Regions from separate parts of the Homo sapiens genome. Here regions 1, 2 and 3 are each linked to region 4. Evidence: promoter capture Hi-C in 16 types of primary human blood cells and fetal thymus (Javierre and others, 2016). All regions are on one chromosome and are shown on one strand. Each heading gives the region's core, a stretch centred on a gene start or on the middle of the fragment in contact. The rest is flanking DNA. Distances are from core to core; before and after follow the strand shown. Region 1 overlaps PAMR1 (peptidase domain containing associated with muscle regeneration 1). Region 2 holds the start of NAT10 (N-acetyltransferase 10). Region 3 overlaps PAMR1 (peptidase domain containing associated with muscle regeneration 1). Region 4 holds the start of APIP (APAF1 interacting protein).

Evidence for each region. The method cuts DNA at HindIII sites, captures the fragments that hold promoters and counts their contacts. A CHiCAGO score of 5 or more calls a contact.
Region 1: a contact is called between a fragment that was not itself captured here and the fragment with the promoter of APIP in region 4, in 6 of 17 cell types (M0 macrophages, total CD4 T cells, naive CD4 T cells and 3 more). The highest score is 6.4, in M0 macrophages.
Region 2: a contact is called between the fragment with the promoter of NAT10 here and the fragment with the promoter of APIP in region 4, in 6 of 17 cell types (neutrophils, non-activated CD4 T cells, naive CD4 T cells and 3 more). The highest score is 9.7, in neutrophils.
Region 3: a fragment that was not itself captured here is called in contact with the fragment with the promoter of APIP in region 4 in 4 of 17 cell types (total CD4 T cells, naive CD4 T cells, naive B cells and 1 more); the score reaches 6.0 in total CD4 T cells.

Annotation. Positions count from the first base shown.
Region 1 is chr11:35,466,737-35,469,621 of GRCh38, reverse strand. PAMR1 (peptidase domain containing associated with muscle regeneration 1) reads left to right here. Exons shown (of 11, transcript NM_001001991.3): 6 at 1,514-1,621. Among named protein-coding and RNA genes, the nearest start is that of SLC1A2, 49 kb to the right of the region's middle. The HindIII fragment of the contact is 1,492 bases long and covers 866-2,357 here.
Region 2 is chr11:34,104,297-34,107,271 of GRCh38, reverse strand. NAT10 (N-acetyltransferase 10) reads right to left here and starts at 1,643. Exons shown (of 29, transcript NM_024662.3): 1 at 1,480-1,643. RefSeq lists an enhancer at 1,431-1,890. The HindIII fragment of the contact is 3,708 bases long and covers 768-2,975 here.
Region 3 is chr11:35,433,810-35,436,524 of GRCh38, reverse strand. PAMR1 (peptidase domain containing associated with muscle regeneration 1) reads left to right here. Exons shown (of 11, transcript NM_001001991.3): 9 at 390-622; 10 at 1,721-2,013. Among named protein-coding and RNA genes, the nearest start is that of SLC1A2, 16 kb to the right of the region's middle. The HindIII fragment of the contact is 9,496 bases long and covers 1-2,715 here.
Region 4 is chr11:34,915,040-34,917,753 of GRCh38, reverse strand. It overlaps APIP (APAF1 interacting protein), which reads left to right and starts at 1,375. Exons shown (of 7, transcript NM_015957.4): 1 at 1,375-1,526. The coding sequence starts at 1,470. PDHX (pyruvate dehydrogenase complex component X) reads right to left here and starts at 1,136. Exons shown (of 11, transcript NM_003477.3): 1 at 939-1,136. The coding sequence starts at 1,098. RefSeq lists an enhancer at 835-1,134 and silencers at 1,305-1,354, 1,375-1,714. The HindIII fragment of the contact is 9,412 bases long and covers 1-1,899 here.

The DNA.
Region 1 (2,885 bases), core at 362-2,861, 550 kb before region 4:
CCTACAGGAACTCTCAGCAGGTGCTCTCTACAGTCTCTGTGCCTGCCCCCTGTGGAGCTGTGCAGGGCCTGGGAGTTCTGATGCTTTGCTGCTGTGGTGTGATCAGCCTGTGGCTGAATCCTCTTCCCTTGGTGACACCCTGCAGGTATAGGCTGAGCAACGTCCCACATGAGATGTGTCTGTGGGGGCTTAGGACAGTCAGCAAGCCAGGTAGGGGCAGCAGTGGCTGGCCAGTCTGTGAATCTGGGACTGAGGGACGGTCAGGAGAATGTCTTGCTCCTCTGAAATGACCTCCTCAACCTCCCCTGGAGAACTTTGGCAATACTGGCCTGTGTTTTATCAATGCCGTCAAATAATACCACTTCCCATTTTTCAAACATCCCTGTTTGTTCACTTGCCTTCAAGATATTTCCTCTGGCTAAAGTCACCTGTCTGCAACCTGCACATCAAAATCCATCCTTCATAGCCCCTACTACATTCTTCCTCCTCTCCTAAATCTTTTCTCTTGCTCCAACAAGCTATGGCTTTGCCCTTTTTTGAATGTCTTGTAGCATTGCCTCTTCTTTCTTCGTAATACACTAACTATATTATGCTTCAAGTCATAGTCGTTTTATATTTTTCTTCAAGTAGTTTTAATCTGGTAAATAGGACATCCTGTTCTTCCTTGTATTTCTCCCTTGTCATGTTTTGAGCAAGTACTCAAGACAGGTTTGTTGAACTGAGCCAAGGAATATACTTCTACATTGGGATAAATGAATGTAGGATTGATGGATAACACACAGATGAATGTTTCTCAAAATCTTTTCTGTAGAAAAATAGTCCCCAGGATGCCTTGTAAAATGCAGGCTTTGAGGTCAAATAAGCTTGAAATTCACAATGTATATTAGGAAACTCACAATGTATATTGGGGCATTGAACTGAGAAGTTCTGCAGTAAAGAAATCTGGTTAATTAGCATTGAATGTCAGCAACATTTCCCTAACATATTTGAGCTCAGAACCCTTAGTAAAACACATCAACATCTCAAGGGACTAATGATTACAGAATGTAAGTTTGGAAATTATTGAATATACCTTCAACAGTGTCATAATGATTGTCTTCCAGTTGCATTGCCCCAGTACCCAGGATGGTGAGCTTTTATTTGAAAAAAGATGGTCTTCAGCTACCCAAGGATGTCTCTGTCCGCTGAAACCCCTATGGGAGAGATACAAGCATGGCTCTGCTTTCATCAATTTAATGTTCTTGTTTGCATTGCCTTGTGGTCTTCAGACTATAGGAGCGTTAAGCATACTTCTGGGGCCCTCAAAAACATCAAATAATATCACCAACATTTGATATTTAATGAGTATCTATTTTAGGCATTTTCAAATAATCATAACATGAATTCAGTAAAGGGAAGAAAAAACATTGCAAGAAGACTTTAATAAGGAATTAAAAGACTTTGGTCAAGACTCTGGGCCTGAAGACATCGACTCAATGTATAGTGGCACTGAAGGATGCCTTTTCTCTTACAGCATGCTCCTCATCCCCTTGTTTCCATGACGGCACGTGCGTCCTTGACAAGGCTGGATCTTACAAGTGTGCCTGCTTGGCAGGCTATACTGGGCAGCGCTGTGAAAATCGTGAGTATGCTTCCTAAGTGGGAGTTAAGGTGTCAGATGGGGCTGGTATGGAAGGATTTTAAGAGCTTGCAGGGCCAACTCTTTCTTCATGTCTAGGATGCTCTGTCCAAGATGGTGCACAGTGTGGATACTCCCAGTGAGTGATTCTCAGAGGGGCATAGCTGCTTCTGAGTCAGGTTCTCTTCAACTTCCTAGGTTTGTCTATTGACATTTCCAACCCTCACTTGCTGCAAATACCTCTTAGAAAGATACAATGGCCTCTAGTAATATTCAGAGCTCAAAAACACTGAAAAAGGTCAACAAACTTTCCTGTGGCTCAGTCTGTATCCCTGTCCATTCTAAGATCTGTATTTTAGATTTATACTCTGGCACCATTCACAGGCTCCAATGTGACTTATTGCATAACTTGAAGCCCTGCAATGAGGGTGGTAGATATACATTTTGCTGAGCAAAATTATTAATAGCATCCTCTTTCGTGAGCAAAGTGTCTTGAATTGGATGACAAACTATATGGTCATGTTTTAACACATGTCTTATATAAGGCCTTGGTTACCAGACCGAAAACAGGTGTCACAGATGGAAGCCATCAGCATGGAATGTGATGTGCATAAGGACAAGAATTTGGGGGAGAGCAAAGGAGGACAGAGAGTCTCCTAGGTAGGTTTTCCCAAAGCAGATCGTGAGTTGAGAATGTGTACACAAGTGAAGTGTTAAGGACAGGCTCCCTGGGGAAGCTTATAGGGGTGTGGGAAGCTGGCCTGGGAAGGGAAGGAGGCCAAGTAGGGGTGCGATTTCAGGCAAAATACCAACCTCAGTGTTAACCTGTCATGAGATCTGGAATGTACATTACTCCTTAGAGTAATGTTCTAGCTTTAAGGCAAGGGATCTGGGCTTTCATATGCCCACAGCAATCAGTCATTGGGTGCGGGCTGCCCTGGGGAACTGGAGGACATAAACCGTGGGCACATATGGCTTTCTATGCATGTGGGCAAAGTGGTTCCAGTAGCCCCTGAGCAGTTCCCTGAAAGAGAATCACAAGTACAGGCCATTGGAAGTAAAATACCATAGGATGGGGAGGGGAAAAGGGCCCACAGAAACACAGAAAATAGACCCGAGGGCAGAGCACCAACAATATCTACTACAGTCACTTCTAACTAGAGTGCACAGGTACTCTGTGGTCATCTAACAGCCTGGTCTGGCAGTATTCTCTAAAGTTTGTGTATGTTTTGAATTAATTTTCACTAATGTTTTCCTTTTTTTTTTT
Region 2 (2,975 bases), core at 394-2,893, 810 kb after region 4:
CTTTGGGAGGCCGAGGCGGGTGGATCACCTGAGGTCAGGAATTCAAGAGTATGGCGAAACCCCGTCTCTACTAAAAATACAAAACTTAGCCGGGAGTGGTAGTGGAGCTGCAGGAGAGGCTGAGGCAAGAGAATCACTTGAATCCGGTAGGCGGAAGTTGCAGTGAGCCGAGATGGTGTGCCATTGCACTCCAGCCTAGGCGACAGAGTGAGACTCCGTCTCAAAAAAAAAAAAAAAAAAGTTCTGTGATTACCTACAGTAAAATACTGCATCATCCCAATAAATACATCAAAAAAACCATCAGAAATATCACTGTAAAAGTAACATGCTACTTAGATGTAAAAGTGACATGCTACTTAGAAACTCTGGTACCTACTGCATTATAAACATAAAGCTCATTTACTGAAACTTACCATACCTTAACTGTCCCTTCTAACCTTCCAATCCAAACAGATTTTAGCATATGTCTTACTATAAAACACTAAGTCACTGTCAAGGACCCCAATTTATACGTAAAGGAGAAAGTATAAAGAATTCAAATATCCCGAGGCAGAAAAACGACAGACAGAATTCACACTCAAGTCTTCCTGACTCCAAAGCCTGAGCTCTTCCCAGTTCGCCAATCTTCCCAACTTGTAAACCTTGTGTTGCCGGCCACATAAAGATCCCGCAAAAATCAATCAACAACTAATTAATGGGGGCTGCCTTTTGCTCTAGCTACTGTGGGAGCCCCAGAAGTAGTACCACAAGGCCCTTGACTTCAAGCTTGCATTCTTCTTGAAGAAGGTATTTAAGAGAATGAGATGAGGAACAAGAACACAGGTAAAATTAGATGTAAAAAAAAAAAAAATAGCTATACTGAGGGACCGGTCAGATGAAGGAAGGGCTGAGATTACTATGGGCTGAAGCTGTCATGGAAGGCCTGGATGGGGAAGGCCTTGAAGGAGATGATTATTTTTCGCTCACTCATTCGTCTATCTACACATAACATCTATGTGGCAGGCACCATTTTAGGTGCACTGGCAAACAAAACCAAGTCCTGAATGTGACTGCTGAATAAAGAGTATAAAGGAATGTGCACAGTGAAGGATTTAAGAACGTGGAAGGATCTGGAATCAGATTACCCTAAGTATAATGCCCAGACCTGCAGCCAGGCACTGCGGGCAAGCTCCACGGAAAACAACTGTTGTCACCCACCCATTCACCCCGACTCCCCAGTTACAGGCACTACTTAGAGGTGGTTATCGAGCCACGCAAATCCCCGAGGACGCTCGAGAAGCACGCGCCGAGAGCGGCTGCGTATTGGAGAGGTGATTCTGTTATCTTGGAGCGCCCCAAAAGAGGGGTGGAGGACAAACGGCGTAGGCCAGGTATCCGTCCGGATGCAGAGCCTTCATCCTGAGGCCGGTCCCCTCTCGACCCAGGAAGAACACAGACACCGATCTTGGCATCCATACCCGGCCCTCCCGCGTTGGGTACCTGCGCCCCGAGCCCGGGGGATCCCAGCCAGTGGAGAAGGGGAAGCACGTGGGAGCACGGAACAACTCCGAAAGAGAAGGCACAGCTGACTGCCCCTAGCGTATGCCTGGTGTCCGGGTCACGTAGTAAGCCTGGCTCCGCGGCACGCGTCCCTCTCAGGAACTGGTAGACAGCACGTGCGCAAGCGCATTAAAGTCGCAGAGATGGCGAGCGAGAAGGGACCTTCCTCAAGGCTGTCGCTGAGTAATGACGTAAGCCACCAGAAGCGGAGCTGAGGCCTAGATGTCCACTGCGGTTGCGCATTTTAGTCCCACTGCTCGCGGTAGCTGGGTGTTGGCTGCGGTTTGCCTCTTCACTCTTCATATCCCAGCTAAAGTACCTCGGCTAAGAAGGGCAAAATAGATGTCCGCACCCCAGGGCCTGCCCACGTAGGTCCAGGGTTTTCAGCGTCAGCCTGGTTACGCGAAACGCGACGGATCCAACGATTTGTGTTCAATTTAACCGATCCCCGTTAAGTTGAGGAAACTCGGCCAACAGACCTATTTTATTGGTTTCGCTTGGCCCTCCACCCCCACAGTACTGATCTTACAGATGGGAATCCTGTAATCTACCCATGACTGCGGCCGCTGTACTTTGCAGGCTCCCATTAGGCCTGTATATGGTCGTCAAATGAAATTACTCCCCCTGGGCTTCCAGTGAACTCCAAGAACATGACTACAGGGACAACCTATACATAGTGTTGCATTCTTGACTTTGGGGCAGATCGCTGAACTTCAAAAAACATTATCAACTGCTTGATGTTTCCTCCTGGATACCGCAAATGTCTGAATCCAAACCCCTTCCCCAGATACACTTTTAATGTCATCAGCAGCACTACCCATTTAATCCAACATCCATCATGAAATTTTTTAGTTCATTCAGCAAAATGTGAATATGCCCACGCACTATTCTGCTCACAAGGGATAGTGTCCAAAATGTTCCTGCCCCTCGTGGTTAATTCTAGGTTAAGTTTTAAATGCTATTAAGCAGAAGTATCCAGTGAGTAAAGTGACTAAGGATACTATTTTAGAAACGAACACTGAAGGCCTCTGACGGGGTGACACTGGATGGAACAAGGACCTGAAATTTAGAAAGAATGAGCCCTGAGAATATGAGTGAAAAACTTCCCCGTGCCAAAGATGTACATACAAAAGCTCCAAGATGGGGGAGTCCTGGCAAAGCAGTCAGTGTGGCCAAAGCAGTGGGCAAGTGAAGGACCAGATTTAGAATTTAATTCTAGTCATGATGAGAAACCACTGGAGTTTGTGGGGGACAGGGAAATGAGAAAATCTGCTTTGCCCTCTTAAAAGGCTTCCTGTTATGCAAAAACTAAATCACAGGAAGGCAAAAGTAGAAAAAGGAGAACAATTATAAGCTATTGTAGTCACCTGTGCTAGGATGGTAGTTGTGGTAGTAGTTAGAAGTATAAGATAACTCTGGATATTCAAGTTAGAACC
Region 3 (2,715 bases), core at 189-2,688, 520 kb before region 4:
TTGCTTGAGCCCAGGAGTTCAAGATCTGCCTGGACAACATGATGAAAACCCATCTCTACTACAAATACAAAAATTAGCTGGGCGTGGTGTTGCATGTCTGTAATCCCAGCTATTCAGGAGGCTGAGGCACAAGAATTGCTTGAACCCAGGAGGTGGAGGTTGCAGTGAGCCAAGATCGCATCACTACACTCCATCCTGGAGTGAGGGACAGAGGGAGACCCTGCCTCAAAAGGCAGACAGACAGAGAGAGAGATAGAGAGAGACAGAGACAGAGATTTTTTCTGTTTCTGTAAACAAATATCTACATGGGACATGGCATGAATGCTAAAGAGGCCACAGTGACTTTCTCTCACCCTGCTCTTTCTCTGGGCCCATGTTTCCTGACCCAGGGAGACACCATTACACCAGCTATACTCAGCGGCCTTCAGCAAGCAGAAACTGCAGAGTGCCCCTACCAAGAAGCCAGCCCTTCCCTTTGGAGATCTGCCCATGGGATACCAACATCTGCATACCCAGCTCCAGTATGAGTGCATCTCACCCTTCTACCGCCGCCTGGGCAGCAGCAGGAGGACATGTCTGAGGACTGGGAAGTGGAGTGGGCGGGCACCATCCTGCATCCCTAGTGAGTCAAGGCTCATTCTTGGGCTTGAGCATGCTCAATCTTTCATGACTGCCTGAGAAAAACCATTAACCCTACTTTTTGGGAGAGCATCTCCAGTGCTTTCTCTAGTTTGGTGATATCTGAAATTCCATAGTTAGAGCTTTTTTTTTCCTTTGGCTTAACCTTACTACCCAGGAGAAATTGACTCACTAAATCTTAGAGGCATGCGTTCTTGGGTGATTCTATCATATTTACTTGGAAAAAATGGTCATTAAGTCACCAAGTGGGGAAAGGGGTTAAAGGTGCCAGAGGGCCTCAAGTTATATAATCTTGGCTACCCTGTTTAAGCCCCAATTTTTACACTCATCACCCAGTGATACTAATTAGGTACTTGTTATTAAGCAATGAGGTATTAGATTGGGCACCGGTGGCTCATGCCTGTAATCTCAGCATTTTGGGAGCCCAAGGTGGGTGGGTCATTTGAGGTCAGGAGCTCGAGACCAGCCTGGCCAACATGGTGAAACCCCATCTCTACTGAAAATATAAAAAAATAAAAATAAAAAATGTAATGAGGTATTAATTACATCATAAGGTTATGATGATGAGTACTGAGATAATATGTCAAAGTGTCCGGATTAGGGGCCTGCATTTACTAAGCTGCCTTCCCCATCCTCTTTGCGAAAGGAGAACAATATGATTTAGTTCATTGTGGTCATGACTATGAGGATAGTCATGATATTTTGAGTTTGTTTGCATGTACCATCTCATTTAATCTCCTCAAGAGCTCTGTGAGACCATTATTATTGTTCTATCCATTTTACAGGCAAGAAGACAGAGGCTCTAAAAGATTAGACAACTTGCCCAAAGTTCTATTGATAGTAAGTGCCTGGGATCAGAACTCAGGTTTCATTTGACTGCAAATCCTAGACTTTATAGCCAGCCATGTCAGGGTGGGTTGATTAATATTTAAATGCAGAAGAAAACTGGGTTACTTATCTTAGTGGTCATCATGCCCATACAGTTCACCTTTCCAGATTTGTGCTCTCTGGTTAAGTGACACATTCTCCTTTGGATGGCAAAGTCTGAGTTTATCTTACTAAGCTGGTACTTTCTCCATAGTCTGCGGGAAAATTGAGAACATCACTGCTCCAAAGACCCAAGGGTTGCGCTGGCCGTGGCAGGCAGCCATCTACAGGAGGACCAGCGGGGTGCATGACGGCAGCCTACACAAGGGAGCGTGGTTCCTAGTCTGCAGCGGTGCCCTGGTGAATGAGCGCACTGTGGTGGTGGCTGCCCACTGTGTTACTGACCTGGGGAAGGTCACCATGATCAAGACAGCAGACCTGAAAGTTGTTTTGGGGAAATTCTACCGGGATGATGACCGGGATGAGAAGACCATCCAGAGCCTACAGGTAAGAGAGGGCTTGCACTTGGAAGCTGGGGCTCTGGCTCAAAAAAACTCCAAGCACGGGAGAGCAGTGATTATACCAAGCTCTGTCCCCTTAGCATGTCAGCAGCCAGCCCAGAGCCTCGCATATAGCAGCGTTCATTATTTCATATTGAGATACTAGATGGGGGTACCTAGAAAGGCTGTGGAGTCTTTTTTCCACCTTGATTATTTTTTAAATAAGATAGAGGCAAAGGCATCTATCACTGTGGTCATCAAAAGTTAATCACCTAAGAGTAAAATGTACTTCTCCTAGTAGCACATGTTACCTGGTAGGATATGTCATAAATTAACAAATTAAAAATTAGTGAAATTATTTGTTTAATGGCTGGCTCTGCCTGAAACCGTTAGCTCCATGAATGTTGTGATTTGTCATTGTACCCTCACAGTGTGGCACAGTGCCTGGCTCAAAGTAGATTATCAATAAATACTTTTTGAATAAAAAAAGGTTAATCACCTATTACATTTGGGCACTGTCCTAGGTAGACAGAGATGTTTTACCCTAGATATACTCTTAACAAATTTACAATATATGTCTGTCTTTCCCTGACTCCCTCCCTGTCTTTTATTCCCCCACCCATCTGTCTATCCATCTATCTTTTCATCCATCCCTCCATCTATCCATCCCCTCATCCATCCATCCATCCATCCATCCCTCCATCCCTCC
Region 4 (2,714 bases), core at 126-2,625:
TTAAGGAACCTTTAGGAACCCCAATACACTCATCTTACCATATGACTTTGTGTGATTTTTTTTTTCTGAGCCTAAGGTAGCTCAGAATATGAAGGCAACGTCTACTAGACCTATTTAAATTAAAATTCATTCTGTAGAGTGCCAGGAACGATGATTGGCAGGTAATACGTCACACTAAAAAACGTCAGTCCTATTCTCCATCCCCGCCTCCCTCCAACCTTCTCCCAAAATAAGGAAAAATAATACCCGGCCTGCCATTTTGCATACTGTTAAATACTGCAAGAATTGTGTTAACTGCATCAATATCATTACTAAACAACAATTTTCTATAATAAATTTTTGGTATGATTTATCTCCTAAATGTTTGCTCTTTCAAGCGAATATTTGCTTGAAACATTCTCCTGGACCTTTGTCTATCGTGATGCCGTAGGAATTTACAAATTTAAGTCTTCCACGAGTCATGGCGTGGGGTAAAACTCGACTGGCCTCAATGAAAACACCTCCTAACAGAGAGAGGCCTAGAGAATAAGTAAGAACTCCCAACAGTGGCTTTTCAATCTCGGCAACCTTGGGCAGCTTTTTCTCGTCCGAGACGTTTGACAACCCTAAAGAAACCTGAGCCTTGATTGGAAAGGGGGCTGAGGGAGGAGAGTTTGGGAACCCTCTCTGCGCCTCACAAATAACCCAAATTCCAAGGCAAGGTCACAAAGCCATACAAACCAGGGGGCCTAGGGCAGAGTCGAGTTCTCTCAGCTGCCAAGAAAGCCCTTCACAGCATGCATTAGGCCAAGTCGGCGGACCCCAACCGGAGAAAGAGGAAAGGGAATAAGGAGCCCGCGCACCTTCACACCCAAAAGCAGGCCCTCAATCATAACTGCCCCTGTCCCAGGCCCATCACTCAGCTACACAGAGAAGCTGAGCGAGCCCCGGCCACTCACCCCGAAGCCACTGCGTGCTGTGAAACCATCTCCAATTAGCTCCGCGGCTTACAGACCACCCAAGAGCCCCCTTCACCAGCCCTACGCTTCGGCGGCCGGGGAAGCCCACAAGATAACGCAGCAGCCGCGGATCACAGCCCAGCCTCCAGGAGGCCGCCATCTTGACGGCCTTCTCACTGGCTGCCCGCAGCACAGCCTGATGTCCAGCATCAAGGCCCCGCCTCCCGCATGGTTGGCCACGCCCCCAGACGCTAGCGGTGCCTTTAGGTCTCTCAGACTTGAACCCCCGCCCCCCAACCCAGCCCCGCCTCCAACCACGTTGGCCTTGCCTCCCGGGAAGTCAGGTGCGCCGCTGGATATCTCAGCCGGCGGGGCCTTACCAGACCCCGGCCCCCGCCCCGTTCGCCCCGCCCCCGGGCTGCCCTCAGCGCCGCCTGATTGCATTTGCGGCCTCGCTGCCGTATCCCAGGCTAAGCGCCGCGCGCAAAGCCGTGCGGAGATTGGAGGCCGCGCGGGTCCCTGGTCTGGGCCATGTCTGGCTGTGATGCTCGGGAGGGAGACTGTTGTTCCCGGAGATGCGGCGCGCAGGTAGGGGCGGGGCCACCGGTGCCCGGTATTCCCAGGAGGAGAGGCCCAGGCGGGACCCGGCGGCTGGAGCTGGGCGCAGGGTAGCGGGCCGGGCGTTTAGCTGCGGGGCGGGGTTTCGGGCCTGGCCGTTCGCTACCCCGGCGCACCGCGACCTTGGCGTTCGGAAGCAAGGCTGCGAGGCCCCAGGAGATCAGTGGTCTCGGGCGGGGCGCTCCGATGGCGGGAGCTGGGCGCCAAACGTTGGAAAGAAGCAAATAACTGAGAGAGGAGAGCGTTTAGGTGACCTCACCGGGTATTTATCAGGAAGGCAGGCCAGAGAAGGAATCGTGAAGCACCGAAGTGGAGCTGGGGCGAAGACCGCGCCCCCCAAGCTTCTTTTCTGCGCCCTGACGACCAGTTAGGCGTTTGGGGGGACGTTTGGCACTCGGGAGACGTTTGCCGAACCGGAGCTGTGCCTCAGCTGCCAGCGCTTTGCCTTTGAGCAGTTGCTCCTTGCCTATCTCCGTTTAGATGAATTGTGGGATGATCATGGGAACGATTCTTCCTTAAGCCGAAGTCAAAGGGAAATCCACCCTCACGCTGCATGTAGTTTTCGGTCATTTACACAAACCAACAGTTTTATGGAGCGCCTTCTACACGCTCAGAGATAGGGATACGTAAGATAAATGGCCCAGGGTCTGGAGAACTAGACGAATAAGCAGTTTCAGCACAATATGATAAACCCCACCTAAGAGGCAGGGAAACCCCTCAAAATTAGTTTCCTTATTCCCCCTATCTTATTCCTCCTATCTATATCTTTCTTAGGGTTGAAAATCCTAATTAAAAAGTAGTAACTCGCGGGAGATTTCATTGCTAAACATTTGTCAACCACTTTCTTGTTTGAATAAGTGACTTCCCCAAATTAGCAAAGACGACTCTGAAAATAGAATGCTGCATAGGCAAGATTGGATGAGAGAGAGAAGATCTTGGAGACAGGACAGGTAACTGGAGATCGTTCCTGGGCAAGTGTGTATGGAGAAGTGTCCGTACCCTCAATCAGTAAATCTTAGTGTAATGTCATCAGAATGAGCATCAAAGAGAGCCTTAAGGGACCCGAGAATAAACTAGGATTCTCAAACCAAACATGGCCCACAGACAGCTTGGTGGACAGGCATGTTTTTTTTTTGCTGCACTCAATGTTCATGAAAA